2 separate regions of the Homo sapiens genome follow, and region 2 is linked to region 1. The links are contacts of gene promoters, found by promoter capture Hi-C in blood cells and fetal thymus (Javierre and others, 2016). All regions are on one chromosome and are shown on one strand. The core of a region is centred on a gene start or on the middle of the fragment in contact, and the rest is flanking DNA. Distances in the headings are between cores, read along the strand shown.

Region 1 (6,709 bases), core at 1,802-4,301:
CATGAGGCTGAGGCAGGAGAATCGCTTGAACCTGGGAAGTGGAGGTTGCAGTGAGCCGAGATCACGCCACTGCACTCCAGCCTGGGTGACAGAACCAGACTCCGTTTTAAAATATTAAAAAATATTTTAAATTTTGAAATTAATTTTTTGTTAGACAGGGTCTCACTCTGTTGCCCAGGGAGTGCAGTGACATGATCACAGCTCACTGCAGCCTCAAACTCCCAGGCTCAAGCGATCCTCCTGCCTCAGCCTCCTGAGTACCTAGGAGTACAGGTGCCCGCCAGCATGGCCAGATAATGTTTTTTTTCTTTGTAGAGACAGGTCTCGCTATGTTGCCCAGGCTGGTTTTGAACTCCTAGCCTCAAGCCATCCTCCTGCCTCAGCCTCCCAAACTGCTGGGATTACAGTCATGAGCCACCTCACTCAGCCCAGGATAACTCTTGATTACCTATTGTGTGCCAGACACCTACACCTGCTGGACTGTAAAAGCTATGAAAGGATCTTTATCTGTCTTTTAAATTCAAACAAGTACTTGATCCATAATAAATACTCTATACACATTTACCAAATAAGTAATCATTTCTCATTTTTTAACTTAAAAAAACCCCCTAACACTCAGAGAGGATGCAACTTCCAAAGGTTATGCAGTAATAGTAAAATCTGGATTTAAGGCCTATTTGACTTAAAATCCACTCTAAAAGACGTTACATGGTCTATAACTCAGTAGGACTTACCTTGTGTACGAAGGAAAGATGAGTTATAATGACAAAATGAGATGACAAGGCTAAGCTATTAGCTGTGGGAAGGAACAGATGGTAGATGACAGCTTGAAGAAGTCAAAATTTGGTGATTGTCCAAGTGTGGGAAGGACAAAAATGGACAGAGCCAAGGATGATTTTTCAGACTCTAATAAGAGTAGGAGGCCAGGAGAATGATGAAATAGGCAAATTTGGAGAGGGAATGGACATGAGGAGCTCAAGTTCATAAATGGGCTAACCAGCAGGGGAGGCAAAAACCCTAGATCCAGGAATGCTGTATAGATGATAGCTTTTATGTTTTCCTTAAAATTTTTGAAACTGTGGTAAATATACATAAAACCACTTTAACAATTTTTAAGTTCAGTGGCATTCAGTGCAACCATCCTATCTACAAAACTTTTCCATCACCCATTAAACAACTCTCAATTCCCTCCTCCTCTCAGCCCGTAGCAACCACCATTCTACTTTGTCTCTATGAATTTGGCTACTCTAGGTACCTGATATAAATTGAATCATGCAGTATTTGTCCTTCCGTGACTGATTATATATCACTCAGCATATCATCATCAAGATTCATCCATGTGGCAGCAAATGTCAGAATTTCACTCCTTTTAAAGGTTGATTTTCCTGAAACTCTGATTGGAAAAATAAAGGCTGAATATTCCATTGTATGTATATCACATTTTGTTTATTCATCCTTTAATGGACATTTGGGTTGTTTCCACATTTTGGCTACTGTGAATAATGCTGTTACGAACTTTGGTGTACAAATACCTGTTTGAATTCCTGCTTTGAGTATATACCCAGAAGTGAATTTATTATTTAAACATTCTATTTTAAATTACATCCTGTAGTAAGGTGTACACTCCTTTAATGAAGTCTGCTAAAACTAGTTTCCCCAAGTCAACAGGAACCTCTCAAACTGTAATGTGAAATTATCACTGAGTGTTTTTTCTTTTTAGACATGGTCTGGTTCTGTCGCCCAGACTGGAGTGCAGTGGTGCAATCATAGCTCACTGCAGGCTCAGATTCCTGGGGTCAAGTGATCCTCCGGCCTCAGCCTCCCAAACAGTTGGGACCACAGGCAGGCACCACCATGCCCAGCTAATTTCTTTTTTTTTTTGGTAGAGACGGGGTCTCACACTCCGGGGCTCAAGTGATCCCCCAAAGTGCTGGGATTACAGGCGGAAGCCACGGTGCCGGGCCTTATGATTGAATTTTTGAAGCTTATTGTTAGTTATGTACTTCTTTACCTATGACACTAGACTCCCCAAAATGCCAAAAACAAGATTGGTGTAATTTATCATTGTGGTACCCTTAAGCTGTCAGCATAGTGCTTTGCATACAGCAGGCGTTAAATGTTTGAAAATACAGTTCCAATATATCATTTGTGGCATATTAATAGGCTATTAATTCAGTAGCAAAAACACCAGCTTTTGCATCTTTCAAAATATAAGTCAATCTTTTTTCCCTAAAGAAGGCAGCTTCGTCCCTCCCCTCACCCCCCTAATACTCTTCCATCATATACAGGAAAGAAAGTACTTATATATATTAAGTGGAGTCTCCAGAGGGAAGGATGGCAGGATACAATAACTTTTCCAAGAGATCAACAGTTCTATCCACAACACTCGGGGAAAACTATTTCGGGGGTCGGGTGGCGGTGGAGAGGGGGCGTTGGGAGCGGAAAGAACGTTTTTCTGAACGCAGGTGTCACTGGGCCAACTTCACCCAGCCTACATTCCTTTAAGGCCCCCGTGGACTGCTCTGGGATGAAAGCGGAGGCTGACTGGGACTCCAGCCGCCGGCCGCCTCGCGTGGAGCCTTGCTGCTCCTCTTGCCGCCTTCCGCTGGCCAGGACCGTTTTTAGGCCTTTGCCACGCCTCGGGAGCGCCACGAACTCAACAGCCGCCCAAGCCGCCTTCCGGCTCGCGGTCTGCGGACGCGCTCGGAGTTGGGGGCCTTCGCCAACAGCTGCCGTACCGTGCCGCGTCGCAGCCGCACGCTAGCGGGGTCAACGGCGCGGCAGGCGCAGGGGTCCTCGCCAAGGTTCGGAAGAGGACCTTGAAAATGGCTTCTGGGCATGCGCCACAGCGGCCGTTACGAGACGCAAAACCGACGCCTTGGAACTGAGAGCCTAGAGGGACGGAGCTCGGCGCACCATGAGGCTCCCGGGGCCCAAGGCCGACCGTGAGAGCGCACGAGGTTGGCGAGCCCCGCGGGGAGGCCGAGGCGCGGGTGCGGGCGCCGGCGTAGCCGCGGCGGTAGCGTCACGCAGCGAGGCCGTGCGTGCGCGGGCGTCAGGGCGGCGCTGAGTTGAGGACGCTGGCGGCTCCGCGACGAGCTTTGTTTTTTCGGTTGGGCATGCTGCTTACCGCAGGATGATGGAAGCGACGGCCCGTACAAAGACAGAAGCGTTGGTTTCAGTGAGCAGGGTTTCTTTTTCTTTTTCTTTTTTTTTTTTTGAGACGGAGTCTCGCTCTGTCGCCCAGGCTGGAGTGCAGTGGCGGGATCTCGGCTCACTGCAAGCTCCGCCTCCCGGGTTCATGCCATTCTCCTGCCTCAGCCTCCCAAGTAGCTGGGACTACAGGCGCCCGCCACTACGCCCGGCTAATTTTTTGTATTTTTAGTAGAGACGGGGTTTCACCGTTTTAGCCGGGATGGTCTCGATCTCCTGACCTCGTGATCCGCCCGCCTCGGCCTCCCAAAGTGCTGGGATTACAGGCGTGAGCCACCGCGCCCGGCCAGGGTTTCTTAATACAAGTTGGTGACTAACATGTTGCCTAGATTCCAGATTAAAGTCTAGTTGTTGGAGACACATGTGCAATAGAGAACTAAAATTTAAATTCAAGTTCGTGAGTGAATTGAATAGATGTTGGAGCATCTCTAGTTTATCAAGGACACTTTTTTTCCCCCTCGAAATTTCATTTTGACGATGTGTGGAAAAATTTTTGAAAAAATTTGAAGTTGAGGGTCTTAGCAATGAAATGGGCAGAACTCCTAAGATTGCTCCGTTTGTATCTAGTTGAACTATTCATGATAGTAAAGGGAAAGGATGGCTGTTTTCGCTCTTAGTAGGGTTTGACGTAGTGAAAAGTTACGCTTTCTGAGCCTGTTTGCGAATGTCTGAAAAAATACTGGATACATTCTGTGGATTAAATGGTAGTCCACATTTAATCCACAGATTGGCTATTGTGAATAATGCTATGAACTTCGGTGTATAAATATCTGTTCGAGTCCTGCTTTCGTGTTTTTTTTTTTTTTTTTGAGTACTCAGAGGTGAATTCATTATTTACTTTTAAGCGTTCTATTTAAATTATATACTGTAGTAAGGAGTAAGAAAGAGGCTTTCGTTCTTCCCTTCTGAACTAGGCAGCTATTTCTTTCAGGTATCGCTTTACAAAAACGGTTTTGTATTTATTACAGCTGAGTCAGTGCTGATTCTCTCAAATAGAGCTTGAAGGATAAATCTTCATTTTTGTTTCAACAAAACTTCGAAACAAAATGGAAGAAAATAATCTACAGGTAATGCCACCCTTCTTAGCTGCGTCTTTGACTCTTAAGAATTATCACCTGGATGTATTGTGAGATAATTGCAAACAAAATTGATCACATTTAGGTCCTAGCATTTCCCGGGGTGTTGGTTGAGGTAAACAAGGGTATACATAGATGAAAGAGTCACATTTGGTGTATGTAAGTAAAATAAATGTTTTTACTTTTATCACTAGGTGTTAAAGTAGCAAAATCTATTTTAAAAACACTCTAAGTAGTGTTCCCCAATGTGGTTGTGTATATGGATCACCTGGGGATTTTGTTAAGTTGCAGATTCTGTTTAAGGAGGTCTAGGGTGAGGCCCAAGCTTTTGTGTTTCTAAAGTTTCTAGGTGAAGATGCCACTGGTTTGGAAACCACATTGGGAGTACCTAGGGTGTAGCTCCCTGCTGTCCAGTAGCTACACATGGCAAGTGGGCACTTGAAATGTGGCTAGTGGAATTGAGGAACCGAACTTTAATTTTTTTTTTTTTTAAGACAGGGTCTTGCTCTGTTGCCCAGGCTGGAATGCACTTGCCCAGTCACGGTTAACTGCAACGCTGACCACCTGGGCTCATAACTTCATTTTTAATTTTAAGTTTAAAATTGGATATTTGATTACATTATTGGAAAAAAGTATGTTTGGAATAACTTGGGTATGTGCATGTATATTTTAAATGTAAAGTTTTTAAATCCAATACAGACAAGTATTTCTGATGAAGGTTTTGGAACTGAGACGCAGAAGTACAAAATATGTAGCACACTGGATTTTGAAGACTTAATGTGAAAAACAAGAATCTAAAATCTCTTATATTGATTTTATGTAAAAATTATATTTTCGATATATTGGTTTAAATATTCTAATTCCGATTATAATTCCAATTCTTGGGCTACAAGAAAGTTGCCTACTTGTATTTTATCTATTGGACAGTGCTACATCAGATATCAAATACCCTTTGGACTACTTTTATAATACTGCTGTATAGGAATAGTAACAGCTATTACAGATTAATCTTATAAATTCTGTTTTTTCTTGGGGTCATGTTAAAGAAAAAATTAGTCTGACTTTATTGAGGACTGTTGCAATAAGAACATTGCAAAGATGAAGAATTTGACCAGATAGGGTGATCAGATATCAGGGGTAGAAGATTCTGTCTAAACTGACTTAGAAGTATTCTTATTAAAACTGGGCTAGGCAGCCCAAAGATAGGATTGGGGCCAGGGTTTGAGGTCTATTCAAGAAGATGGCTCAGAGGAACCTGACTGAAGTTTGGTCAGTGAGAGAGTCTTTTGCTGGTGTGTTGGAATGTTCCTACAGATGCCCAACTACTCAGGAGGCCGAGGCCAGAGGATTGCTTGAGCCCAGGAATTTTAAACCAGCCTGGGCGACATAGTGAGATCCTCTCTCTCTCTTAAAAAGAGTGTTGGCTGGGTGTGGTGGCTTACACCTGTAATCCCAGCACTTTGGGAGGCCAAGGCGGGTGGATCACGAGGTCAGGAGTTCAAGAAGAGCCTGGCCAACATGGTGAAACCCGTCACTACTAAATACAAAAATTAGCCAGGCATGGTGGCGCATGCCTGTAATGTAATCCCAGCTACTCGGGAGGCTGAGGCAGGAGAATTGCTTGAATTGAGGGAGGCGGAGGTTGCAGTGAGCTGAGATCGCGCCACTGCACTCCAGCCTGGGTGACAGAGCAAGACTCCGTCTTGGGGGGAAAAAAAAAATATATATATATATATGTGTGTGTGTGTGTGTGTATATATGTGTGTGTGTGTGTGTGTGTGTGTACATATATATGTGTGTGTGTGTGTATATATATGTGTGTGTGTGTAAGTGTGTGTACATATATGTGTGTGTGTGTGTGTATATATATGTGTGTGTGTATATATATATAGTCAGTCATTATAAATATTTTCCAGCCTCCTGCCTACTTGGACCACAGGCTTTGGCGACTCACTCCACAAAAGGTCCCTTATGGTTAGGAGTCATCTAATTGTTTTCATTGAATACATTCATTGGTAATGTTCCCTTCAGCTGAAACTAAGCTATAGGGAGCATACAGCTAGATTCTCTCTTGTTAAAAGGCATGAGAGGATGCTTACATGAACTGTGGAGGAAATGCAGTGCTACCTAATGATTTTAGGACAAAGGGTATGTGAAGGCCAGTGTGTTTTTCAAAGTGATTGGGGGAAATAAAGTTTTTTTTTTTTTGCCCCTTATTTAATTTCTGAAGTCATGCATGATTTAGAACCTGTCTTTTTTTGTTTGTGAACTTCAGTGCAGTAGTGTGGTTGACGGTAATTTTGAAGAAGTTCCCAGGGAGACGGCAATTCAGTTTAAACCTCCACTATACAGACAGCGGTACCAGTTCGTTAAAAATTTAGTGGATCAACATGAGCCTAAGAAGGTAGGTATTTCTCTTT
Region 2 (6,709 bases), core at 2,299-4,798, 880 kb after region 1:
TGAAAACTTGTGAGTCAGGGCTCCAGGTATTCTTACTCCAAAGCCAGGAGTTTCTAACTACAACCATATATATATATGGTACCAGTTCCTGAAGTGGGTGAGATATAAGTGTATGTGTGGCTGGTACTCTCATGAACCTTCTACAGAGTACTGGAGAGACTTCATTTTTATGTTCCTGTCTCTGAAGTAAGGAATTAGATTACCTTAATTTAGAAACAGATTTTTGCCTTTTCTCGCTTTTTACTATCATTCTGAATAAGCCTCATGTAGAACCTCTTTAAGTTGTGTTTGTTAAAATTTTGAGAGTTAGGATGCATTATATCTATTATCATAAAAATAAACTTTATGGCCGGGCACAGTGGTTCACACCTGTAATCCCAGCACTTTGGGAGGCCAAGGCAGGTGGGTCACTTGAGGCCAGGAGTCCGAGACCAGCCTGGCCGACATAGCGAAACTGCATCTCTACTAAAAATACAAACATTAGCCAGGCATGGTGGTGTGTGCCTGTAATCCCAGCTACTTGAGAGGCTGAGGCATGACAATCACTTGAACCTGGGAGGCAGAGGTTGTAGTGAGCCAAGATCGCACCACTGTACTCCAGCCTGCACAACAGAGTGAGACTCTGTCTCAAAAAAGAAACAAACAAGAATAGACTTTATGAGAAAAATACATTTTAGATAAATGGCTTTCTCACTAAGTCTTCGAAAGAGACAATCTTAGGACAAAAGATTGAAGGAAGGGTAAAGTTGCTAGCAGAGTATATTTAACATTTAGATTTAAGTACTGAAGATCTTTATAAGGAATCTTTGAAACATAATTAAGGTTAATTTAGAAAACTTTTTCTGAAAACACTCAGAATTAAATTAAGGCAATTTCCTTAAAGTTGGTGATTATACAGAATAGCTACTATTTAAATAGTTTACGTGCTAGCTTATTTAATCCTCACGATAATGTAATGATTGTTAATAATCTAACTATTATTATAGGCATTATCTAGAAGATGAAACAAAAGCTCAGAGAAGTTAAGTATTTTGCCCAAAAGTACTTGGCCAATAAATGGTAAGCTGAGGATTTAGACTCAGGTGGTCTGGCCCAAGAGCCCGCCCACAGTCTCACCTGCTTTGCTATATAGCAGGACTGTCCAATAGAACTTTCTGTGATGATGGAAATTTTTTGATAACTGTGTAGTTCATTACAGTGGCCACATGTGTGTGGCTACTGAACACTTAAAATGTGGCTAGTGCAACTGCAGAACTGGGATTTTTGTTTTTAAAATTTAAATTAATTTAAATAGCCTCATGTGGCTAGTGGGTACTATACTGGAGAATACAGCTTTCCAGAATCTTTCAGATTCTGTAAAAGTAGAGATACAAGTTGCTTGGGGCCACCCAGGCTAACTTTGTGTTATACTGATATAGAATCTGCAACTCAAATGGGTTAGTAATCTACTTAAAGTAATAAAGTAATTTATTACTTTAAGTAATAATTATAAAATTATAATCCAGGTGTTTATACTTCCCAATCACAGCCCTTCTCATTCTGCACATCTTTGACACCTGCAAATTTATGTTTCTGCTGCTATGGTTAATATTAGATTGAAAAAATTTTGGAAAAAGAAATCTTATATTTTCTGAACTACATATCTAATTAGTATTTTCCTCTTTTCTCAGGTTATAGAAACATTATCACGACTTTCTCGAACACCTATAGCATTGGCCACAGGAATCAGGTAAGCTCTGTTTTCGTTGTTCATGTGTCCCATTGAGTTCAGTGTAATGATTCTTTATTAAATGGTTACTATTTGTGAAGCATCTTGCACACAGGTACTATGTCTCATTCATGAAGAGTGCCTGGTATGTAAGTATCCCGTACACGTTTGAAATTAATTGAGCAAGGTAGAACTTATTGATAGAGTTGAATAACACATTGGCTAAACATTGTTCTCAATTCACAGGTGACTGTCACTGGTGTGGTTCTTCTTTTTTTTTTTTTTTAACTTTCCTCCAACATTTCTGTACATATGATTCATTAAAGTAAACACAAATGCTTAAGTAAATAAATATTTATAAGATGTTGTAATATGTTTATTTCCTATAGAGTAGATCATAATAACTCATAGCTTTTAGGAGTTTAAGAAATAATCAAACAAGTATAAAACATGTGTACAAGAATGTGTATTGAAGGTTCAGTAGTAAATTAAAAACCTGGAAGTAAATTGGTTAAATATAGTATGTCATCTCCTTGCAATAGAGTATTATGCAGTTGATAAGCATAAAAATATAGATGTGTATGTTGTGTTGAGCCTTTTCTGTTTCAGATACTACATACTTAAGTTAGATCAGTCAGCAAAGATGTATTATATAAGTAACATTAGGAAATAAAGCAAAACAGTCTCTACTCAGCCTGGTTTCATGGAAATGGATCAAATTTGTTTTTTACCTTCTTTATTCAGTGCTCCATATTTCTGTCTCTGGCCATCACAGCCATTTTTCTGTGTCCAGCTCACATTCACATTCTAAGGGAGAGAGGATCCAAGCAGGACTTAGTGGGGTTCTCTGCACTGGCTACAAAGCACAGTGAGCTCAGGAAAAATGCCCTGCTGGTACAGGACCTTTCTCAGAAATGGGCCATGAATTTGGCAGCTTTCTATGTATATGGTCTGTCGGCTGGATAAATGTTTAACTCCTAATTTGCTCTTCAATACATGCATACCTTTCATGTCAATATATATTTTATGTTATTATATGTAAAGATTTTTTTAAAGCATGATCAAATTTTTATGTATTGATTCTGAAAAAACGTAAGTCAAAATTTTTCTCCTTTTTTTCTCATCTATATTTTCTACAATGAACTTGCATAATAAAATGTGCCTTAATTTATAAAAAATGATTATGAGACTACATTTCTCACACACTGATTTATTTGAAAAACCTAGTCTCCTCAAATGTCTTCAGTATTAAATTAATCCATAAGTCAATGTGAAACTCTGCTTTTAATATAACTAGTAATTATTTAAAGCTTATTTATTATTTTGATGGATCCTCTGGTTTTTATGAAACATGTGATATGCTGGCTGCCTGAAAAGAGTAGAATTTTTGGCACAGTATGCTTACTGTGATTTTGTTAGACATAAATTTAAGGCAGTTATGAAAAAAGGACATAGTACCATGATGCAAACAAGGAAGCCACACAGTGGGAATAGGAGATACATTAAAGGTGATTTTCTTGAATAGGGAACAAAGAAAACACTCTATTCACCCCAAGGTCTGGTTGACTCATTTGTCTAATAAACGAAAATAAAACATACAGCTTAAATACCCTAAAGTCTGAGCAGAAATGTCAGGGTCAATGACCGTATATGTAAAGGGCACAATGTTTTTGTCTTCTACTAGTTTTCATCTACACTAGTGAACGGAGCCATGGAAGGATGATTGCTACCAAATTATTTGTTATCAGATCCCACAGCTGAAAAGAGAGGGTGCTGAAGGCAAGGGTACATGCACAGCTGTTTGTTGTCTGACTTGGGGTGCTGCAGTGGGTGAGGTGACCCTGCAGGTATGTGGCAGGTGGGAGATCAGATAAGCACGTTATTATGACCCCCTGCACATGTGACTGTGGTGACCAGCTGTAATTGCTTCAGATGATTTCAGGTGGCAGGTGTTACAGCCTCCCTAGGGGAACCCCAGACAAAGCCACTGAGCAGGCACTTTAGGGAAAGCCCTAGATATTGTTAGACATGGTGACTGATCTGACCATTTTGGCAGCAGACAACTTACATATTTAGTGAGGGTTAAGTGCGCAGCCTGATTGTTGCTCGTTCACTCATGGGTTTGTTTTTTTGTTTTTGTTTTTTCTCCTCTTCCTAGGCCCTTCCCAACAGAAGAAAGCATTAATGATGAAGACATCTACAAAGGCCTTCCTGATTTAATAGAGTATGTTGAAAATTTCAAGCAAAATTTAGCCACTGCCAATTTATGTGTCCATTGTGGGTTTTAACTGTGGATGTTAAAGTAAGCTATCTGAAGGAGGAAAAGTGGCTTAATTACTGATTAACCTTAAACTGGCGATGGAAAGCTTTACAAGAAAATGTACTTCAACTGGTTTTTAGTTCCTGTTTTGTGTCCCCATGAAGAATAAAGAAACTTACTCTAATGAAGTAAAATTTCAAAGTTTCTCAAAGGCATAACAGAAGTAGTAGATAAAACTGGAGTTAGGGAACAATTTAAAAGAAATAGAATCTGCTGCTGGAGTTGTGGGACACATAGTGCATGCCTTATAAGTTCAAGGAAGGGAGAGATAAGTGTGGGTTGGAGCTATTCGGGATGTTTTAGTAGGCGGTGTTTGTTCTGAACAGAGAATCTTTTTGGGCTCTATTATTTAATAGTCAAGAGAGGCAAAAGGTCCTTGCAGCCGATTATCTTCTGCTGATTGAGTGACTTGTACAGATTACAAATAAATATATGCGTGATCGTTACTCCTCAAGGAACTGATGACATGGATCAGGCATGTTTGCAAAGAATCATAATAAGAAATAGATTATGCCCCAAGACAGATTCAAATGCTATGGAACTTCATCCATTCATTCATCTATCCTTCCTCATACACCCAACACACTGGGCTTGTTTTAGCCTTGTGACCTTTACACCTGCTATTCTTTCTGCCTGTTTGACTGATCCCTCAGCGTTCAAGTTTTTGCTTAGATTTCCCTACAGAGAGGCCTTCTCTGACTATCCTGTCTAAAATTGCCACCACCCCCTTACATTGCTGTGTTTTTACAGCATTTGCCAATGCCTGAGACAGTCTTGGTTTGCTTCATTTATTGTTTGTCTCCTCATTAGAAGGTACACTTTTGTGAGGTGTGGGACTTTGCCTTGTTCATGGCTGTATTCCTAGAACTTCACAGTGTCTGGCATATAGTAGGTACTCAATAAGTATTTGTTTTCCAAATTAATAAGTCAAAACTGCATCTAGCATCTACTGTTTGCCAGGTATTACACCTGGCAATAATAATAAGAGCTTACTGAGTTTCCATTTGTGTGCTAACCAGGTTATATGCACTATCTTATGTAATACCACAATATTACTAGGTTGTTATTATATCTTCACAGTTTAAAAGTGAGAAAACTGAATTTTGAAAAGCCTAGTTACTTGCTGAGGGTAATATTGCTAGTAAATTGTAGTCTTTGGATTTGAACTCAGACACCTCTTATTCTAGAGCAGAGGTTGTTAGTCACAGCCCCAACTTCCAGATCCCTCTCAGAGCTTTTAGTAGAAGAGTAGAGGGGGTGAGCACACCCACTGCAGTCACACGATGGATGGCCAGCAGCTCTTTCCAGGGTAGGTGGCCTTGAGAATGATCTTTCAGTCTTATATTTTAAATATCTATTAAGAGTAGTTTCTTATCTCTTAAAATCTCTAAGAACTCACCAACAGTAAGCAAGATAGTGCCAGTTGTTTTATTGAATTGGTTGTAATCTTCATAAAGTGACTAAGATTATTGGTAATGTACTCAGATTGTTTAAGGGGAATATTTAATTTCTAGTGCCGTGATGCTATTCTTTTTTTTTTTTTTTTTTTTTTTTTTTGTGACTGAGTCTTGCTCTGGCACCCAGGCTAGAGTGCGATGGCACGATCTCAGCTCACTGCAACCTCCACCTCCTGGGTTCAAGTGATTCTCCTGCCTCAGCCTCCCAAGTAGCTGGGATTACAGGTGCCTGCCACTGCGCCCAGTTAATTTTTTATTTTTAGTAGAGACAGGGTTTCACTGTGGTAGCCAGGATGGTCTCGAACTCCTGACCTCATGATCCACCTGCCTTGGTGTCCCAACGTGCTGGGACTACAGGTGTGAACCACTGTGCCCAGTCGATATTCTTTTTTAACCCATACCAGTGGTGACTTACACCTATAAATTTTTATAGCTTCCCCATTTTGTTCTTTTCACTGTTATTTAGGCAGACATGATGTCAGGATAAATCCAGTGAGGATGCATTCCTAGCTAAATTTGGAGAAAACCTTGGTTTCCTGAATTGGCTGCTCTGAGATGCCAGCCCTTGCTCTGTGAGAGGCAGTCTGCTTTAAATTTCTACCTGGTGGCCGAAGGTCCGAATGTATTTGCAGGATTAAAGAAATTATTTATTTAATATGCCCAGGCTGGTCTCCAACTCCTGGGCTCAAGCAATCCACCCACCTTGGCCTCCCAAAGTTCTGGGATAAAAGGTGAAGTAGGGTTATCTTAAAAAAAAAAAAAAAGCAAATGTATTATCCCTAGACATGCTTGGTTTTGAGTTTGCTGTGACAGCTTGATTTTTATTCTCAGCTTTATTACAATTTCTATGGGTAAATATACTTAACTCTAAATTTTGGGGCTGCATTCACCCAAACGGAAGCCCTTGGAATAAATACTGGCCTGGTCCCCACTGTGGAGGCAATCATTGTTTCCTAAGTTGGGGAGAAAGCCACAGGATGGAGTGGAGAGGGCAGGTAATGGCTACACTGTACAGTGTCCTTTTAGTATCAGGGCGCCAGACATGCCCGTATGTAGGTGGCCTTACATGTCGATTGTTTTTGATTTATTGACCATTTGAAAAATATCACAGCTTTTTTCTTTCCTGGCTCAGAAATCAGGAATTGTTGACTAAGCTGTTAGCAAGAAAAGCAGCTTTAGTAAAGGATTGAATAACAAAAGCCAAACAGTTCTAGACCAGTCTTG

Evidence for each region. The method cuts DNA at HindIII sites, captures the fragments that hold promoters and counts their contacts. A CHiCAGO score of 5 or more calls a contact.
Region 2: a contact is called between a fragment that was not itself captured here and the fragment with the promoter of HENMT1 in region 1, in 1 of 17 cell types (fetal thymus). The highest score is 6.0, in fetal thymus.

What each region holds. Positions count from the first base shown.
Region 1 is chr1:108,657,435-108,664,143 of GRCh38, reverse strand. It overlaps HENMT1 (HEN methyltransferase 1), which reads left to right and starts at 3,051. Exons shown (of 8, transcript NM_001102592.2): 1 at 3,051-3,181; 2 at 4,182-4,280; 3 at 6,565-6,693. The coding sequence starts at 4,260. RefSeq lists enhancers at 2,154-2,742, 2,743-3,332 and a silencer at 2,918-3,087. The HindIII fragment of the contact is 2,630 bases long and covers 1,987-4,616 here.
Region 2 is chr1:107,774,454-107,781,162 of GRCh38, reverse strand. VAV3 (vav guanine nucleotide exchange factor 3) reads left to right here. Exons shown (of 27, transcript NM_006113.5): 3 at 1,671-1,729; 4 at 3,867-3,932. Among named protein-coding and RNA genes, the nearest start is that of MIR7852, 120 kb to the left of the region's middle. The HindIII fragment of the contact is 1,056 bases long and covers 3,021-4,076 here.